Linked DNA regions of Homo sapiens: region 1 is linked to region 2. Evidence: promoter capture Hi-C in human tissues and cell types (Jung and others, 2019). All regions are on one chromosome and are shown on one strand. Each heading gives the region's core, a stretch centred on a gene start or on the middle of the fragment in contact. The rest is flanking DNA. Distances are from core to core; before and after follow the strand shown.

The links. Contacts are between HindIII fragments. The study calls those that stand out against the background at their distance.
Region 1: a fragment that was not itself captured here is called in contact with the fragment with the promoter of PRRX2 in region 2 in 6 of the 25 tissues and cell types used here (aorta, liver, lymphoblastoid cells and 3 more).

What each region holds. Positions count from the first base shown.
Region 1 is chr9:129,629,891-129,632,590 of GRCh38, forward strand. The region is part of intron 1 of NTMT1 (N-terminal Xaa-Pro-Lys N-methyltransferase 1); the gene reads left to right. Among named protein-coding and RNA genes, the nearest start is that of NTMT1, 5.1 kb to the left of the region's middle. RefSeq lists an enhancer at 1,461-2,251. The HindIII fragment of the contact is 4,298 bases long and covers 1-2,700 here.
Region 2 is chr9:129,664,261-129,666,960 of GRCh38, forward strand. PRRX2 (paired related homeobox 2) reads left to right here and starts at 1,387. Exons shown (of 4, transcript NM_016307.4): 1 at 1,387-1,866. The coding sequence starts at 1,608. The HindIII fragment of the contact is 13,961 bases long and covers 29-2,700 here.

The sequences.
Region 1 (2,700 bases), core at 54-2,553, 34 kb before region 2:
GGAGTTTGGGGCCAGCCTGGGCCACATAGTAAGACCCCATCTCAAAAAAACAAGAATCTGAAGAGAAGTTTAAGCAGGCTTCTCTCTAGGCACAGCCAAAGGATTCTGCTAAGGGTGAGAAGACCCAATCACGGATCTAAGAAGAACCCCGTTGCATCTGTTAGAAGTATTCTTGAGCTGGCTGGGCGGGGTGGGCCTACTGCTTCTGGAAAGTTCCTTCTCTTTCAGGACAGGTTCAGAATATAGTAGTGCAGAATATAGTTCTGGGGCCAGTAACAAATTTGACCAATGAAAAATCTTGGCTGGGTGCAGTGGTTTCTGCCTGTAATCCCAACACCTTGGGAGGCTGAGGCAGGTGGATTGCTTGCAGCCAGGTGTTTGAGACCAGCCTGGGCAACGTGGCAAAACTCCATATCTACAGAAAATACAAAAGTTAGCCAGGTGTGGCGGTATGTGCCTGCAGTCCCAGCTACCCTGGAGGCTGAGATGGGAGGATCACCTGAGCTGTACTCAAGTCTGGCGACAGTGAGACCCTTTCTAAAAAAAAAGAAGAAAAAATTCTCCAGCTTGTCTTGTGTTTAGTTTCCCTTCTCTTTCCTCATAGTTGCTTCCCAAAGGCCTCGTGCTCCTTCTCAGGGCATTTTCCCGTTTCCCTCTGACCACTTCTCTTGAAGCCCCTAGAGTGTTCCTGGGTCTTAAGCTTTGAGTTGTGTTTGAGGACTGTACCCGAGTTCCATATGTGGACTCTTCCGTGTTGACCCTGTAGCTCCAGGAGTCAGGCAGACGGTCTTGGACCTACGATTTGTCAACTTTGGCGACAGGCATTTGCTAGAAGCCCCCTGCTCTCCTCGTGTGGAGGCAGCACGTGCGAGGCGGTGAGCTGCAGCTCCCAGTCAGCTGCGCGTTTTCCACCGAGGGTATTTTCCCTTTACCATGGGTTTATCAGGATGTAGCAGCTGCTGCTGCTGGGATTCCTACCACCCACTGTTGCTGTGTGTCCTCAGCACGGCCACTGCCATTCTCACTCTGCCTCCTTTAGGTTAGGCCTTGGCAGTGTGGGAAACACATCAGCCGAGAGTTGGTGCCCAGCATGCACTCGAGGCCACCCTCATCCAGGCCCCGTCTGCCTTTCCGAGCTCACCTTCCACAGTCTTCCCCCGCTCCACTCTCCGCCCTCTGATGGCCCATGCTGTCCCACGGCTGCTCCCTCTGTCTGCCCCACCCCCTCCAGCACTCCCTGTGCTTGGCTGCCCAGCTCGGGCTGCCTCCTCCAGGCGGCTGCCCCTATCTGCTGTTGGGAGGAGATTCCTCTGCCCTTTGAGTGTCCTCGACACTTTGTGGGTCCATGAGAATCCTTATTTTTCTGCTGTGTATTTTCTTTCCCTTTGTTCTTTGTCCTCCTGGACTAGAGCTCTCTGAGGTCTTGGCAAGCCTCACAGCAACTAGAACAGCCCCTAAGCGTGGTGTGCCTTGGTGACAGCACTGTGCCTTGGGAAGCTTATGGCAGAATGGCCACCCGTGGAGCACGGAGCCGCCCAACTGTCATCGCTGTCCTGAAGGGTGAGGTGGGCCTGGGCTCTGCTGCCAGGACCCAGCTGAGGCTTTCTAGTTCTCTCTCCTTCTACCGTGGCAACCGTCTCCTCATCCCCCTGCCATCTCCACCGCCGCCAGCAGTCTTCAGAAGCATCGGTCTTCCCGGGCCACTCTCTGTTGGGCCTCAGGGTGGTTGACTCATTGCTCTGTAGGATGCAGTCGAAACTGCTAGAGTTGACTGTGAGACCAGGAACTGGCAGCCGCGAGGGCTGTCTGTCCTTCCCTCCAGGAGCAGTGCCGTCGCCCTCCACCTACTGCGCTTATTCTTGCCCATCCATCGGTTTCAGCTTACGCGTCCCCTCCTCAGGGATGCCTTCCCTGGTCCCCGCACCCGACTCCACTTCCTCCCTCCGTGCTCTGCTGGCACTGGCGCTTCTCCTCTGCAGCCCTCCCTGCAGGTGTGGTTGTGTCTGTAGAATTGTTTTCTGCCTGGCTGGCTGCCTGGTTCACAGCCCGGTGCCTGGCACAGAGTCCCCACTCCTTGTTAACGGAGGACTGGACCCCACCGTGAGTTGTTGCTGTGCTCTGAGCCAGAGGAAGGGAGGCGTGGAAGCTTCCCTGGCCCTCCAGGGTCTGCTGGTGCTCTCGGCTTTGCGGTCGTTTCTCTTTATTGATCAGGGTTTTCTGTGCCCTGAAGCCACTGAGTCAGGTGTCATATAGAGCATATCAAGAACTTGAAGCCAGGCCAGGCACATGGGCTCACACCCGTAATCCCAGCACTTTGGGAGGCCAAGGTGGGAGAATCTCTTGAGGTCAGGACTTCAAGACCAACCTTTGTAACATAGTGAGACCCCATCTCTACAAAAAATAATTAGCCAGGCATGGTGGCACACAACTGTAGTCCTAGCTGCTCCGGAGGGTGAGGTGGGAGGGTCTCTTGAGCTCGGGAGTTGGAGGCTGCATTGAGCTATGATCACACCACTGCACTCCAGAAAAAATAAAAATGTAAAAGAACTTGAAGCCAGGACTTGGGGCGGGTGCTCTGAGTGCAAAAGACAGAAGATGCTGTTATCCAAGGGGTAGAAGCAGATTTGGGGACCCTGGACTTCTCTCTGCACTCAGCAGGATGTGTGACTTGTGAAGCCTGGTGTGAGACTGGCCCTCTGC
Region 2 (2,700 bases), core at 137-2,636:
CCCGGCCTACTCGGCCTCATTTTGAAGTCGATTCCTTTCCAGCGCGGGAGGGGGTGGGGGCGGACACAAACAACACACGCTGTGAGGATTAATGTATTATAATGTATTGCTAGGCTTTCCTTAAAAATAGTGTTCCCGGCTGGGTGCGGTGGCTCACGCCTGTAATCCCAGCACTGTGGGAGGCCGAGGCAGGTGGATCACCTGAGGTCAGACGCTGGAAACCAGACTGGCCAACATGGTGAAACCCCTCCTCTACTAAAAATACAAAAATTACCCGGGCATGGTGATGCACACCTGTAATCCCAGCTACTCGAGAGGCTGAGGCAGGAGAAGCGCTTGAAGTCAGGAGGCGGAGGTTGCAGCGAGCCGAGATCACGACACTGCACTCCAGCCTGGGCGACAGAGCCAGACTCTTGTCTCAAAAAAATAAAAATAAATAATAATAATAAATAATAAATAAAAATAATGGTCCGCAGGCTTTCAGGGATGTGTGCGGGCCGGTTTTCCATATGGGAACAGGGAAAGGATGTGCTGAAGGCTTCCTCCGGTAGGCGACTTTGGCTGATGTGACTTTATGCCTCGTAGTGAGGGCAGGGCGACAGAGGGACGGGCCGGTGAGCGGCTGTCCTGGAGAAAGAGCAGTGGCATCCGGGGGGCTTAGGGTCTCAGGTCTGCTCACTCCGCACATCTTTTCTGTGCTTTCATTGAAAAACAAAACTGAAACAAGAGCGGACACCTAAGTCTGCCTCTCTCTTTCCTGTCACCCGTCTCAGGCTGGCTGTCCTCTGTGTGTGCGCCAGGAATTCTGCAACGAAGCGCCTGCCTCTCCGCTTGGTTTTCCTTGGGGAAGGGCCTGGGGCCTCCTGGGGGGTGGGCACCGGGTGTGTGGGTGTGTGTGGGGGACCTGGCAGGGAGCAGCGGGGGAGAGGCGGGGTGGGGGGTCGCGTACACCCCAGGAGCCTGAGGATGCGCTGCCTGCTGGGAGAGACAGCCTTGGGGCGGGTGGTGTGCACAGAGCTCTGTCGGCCAGCGCGGGCGGGCGGGGCCGTTGTTGGGGGCGCTGAGGCGAGTGAGGCTGGAGCTGGGAGTGGGGGGCTCGTCGCCTTCGTCTCTGGGCCGCCCCCTCCACCTGCGGAGGCGATTGTAAAGGGAAGGGGGGAATCCCTCTGCCATCACCTCCCAGATACTTGGGGGATGGAAAACGACAAAACACGGAACCTCCCACTCCCTAAAAAGTGGGTGGGGAGGGTGAAGGGAGGACACCCCTTCCCCGCCCCCAGCGCCAGCAGCCGGGGTGGGGGCGGGCGAGGCGCGCGGGGAGGAGAGGGCGGAGGAGAGGACGGGGGGCGAGGTTTGCTTCAAGAAGGGGCGTGTGGCCGGCGCAGCGCGTGCACCAGCGGCTCCGGAGCGAGCGGCCGTGGCTGAGAAGGGGAGGGCGGAAAGTTTGTTTCCCCGACGTCAGCGCCGGGCGGGCCGCGAGGCTAGGAGGCGGCGGGAGCTGGGCAGAGCGCGGGGCGGCCGGGGCTCTCGCTCCGACCCGCGCCCGCGACCCTTCCTGGGACCCGAGCCCGAGACCCCCGCCGGCCCCCCCGGGGCCGCTCGCGGGCATGGACAGCGCGGCCGCCGCCTTCGCCCTGGACAAGCCGGCGCTGGGCCCGGGGCCGCCGCCGCCTCCACCCGCGCTGGGGCCCGGCGACTGCGCCCAGGCGCGCAAGAACTTCTCGGTGAGCCACCTCCTGGACCTGGAAGAGGTGGCGGCGGCCGGGCGGCTGGCGGCGCGCCCCGGGGCCAGGGCCGAGGCGCGGGAGGGCGCAGCACGGGAGCCGTCCGGGGGCAGCAGCGGCAGCGAGGCGGCGCCGCAGGATGGTGAGTACGGCCGGCCAGGGACGGGGGTGGCGGGGCCGGGGCCGGGGCCGGGGCCGGGGCGCGGGGTCCGGGGAGCCGGCGCGGGGCGGGCGAAGATGCAGGGCGCGTGGTCGGCGGCAGGACTTCTGGGGGCGCGTGTAAGTGACGGTGGACGGCGGTTGACCAGCACTCTGGGCTGGGGGAGGGGGACCCTCTTCGGGTCTTGGGGTGCGTCCCCACGGGGAAGTGCGCTGCCTTCGCTCCCCAGTATTCGGCTCCCGAACAGCCTGGGAAGTGGGTGTGGCTGCTGCCGGGTTACAACTGGGGAAACAGAGACCTGAGTCGGGCAAAGCCGCTGAGCTGCACGTTGGGGTTTCAAACCCGCCCCCTCCCGCACGAGCTAGCGCCGCCCCAGCTCCTCCTCGGTCTTAAGTTGGGCTCTTTGGGGGGCGAGGGTGCCTGCCCACCCCCCCCCACCCTCCAGTTTGCCCCGGGAGCAGCTGCCTCGGTGGAACGGCCCAGCCAGGCCTCTCTTCCCCGGCAGAGGTCAAAGGTCATCAGGAAGGGGCTTTAAAAACAAACAACCCACCCAAGTGGCCTTTTTCAAAAAGTGACACAGGATGGCAGGGTCCTGAGCCCTTGGTAAGAAGGGGAGGGACGGGGAGAAGATGGAGAAAAAGCAAAGGCCCCAGCCCCGGACGGTTCAGTGGGGGAGGGGAGGACCGGAGTCCTCGCGGCTCAGCACACACTAAGGATGGGGGCCCGGTGATCTGAAACCAGGCCCCTGTCCCCTAGCTCTGGGGATGGGCCGGCCTGCTGGGGGCTCTGGGCCCCTGAAGTGTGCCCGCCTGACTC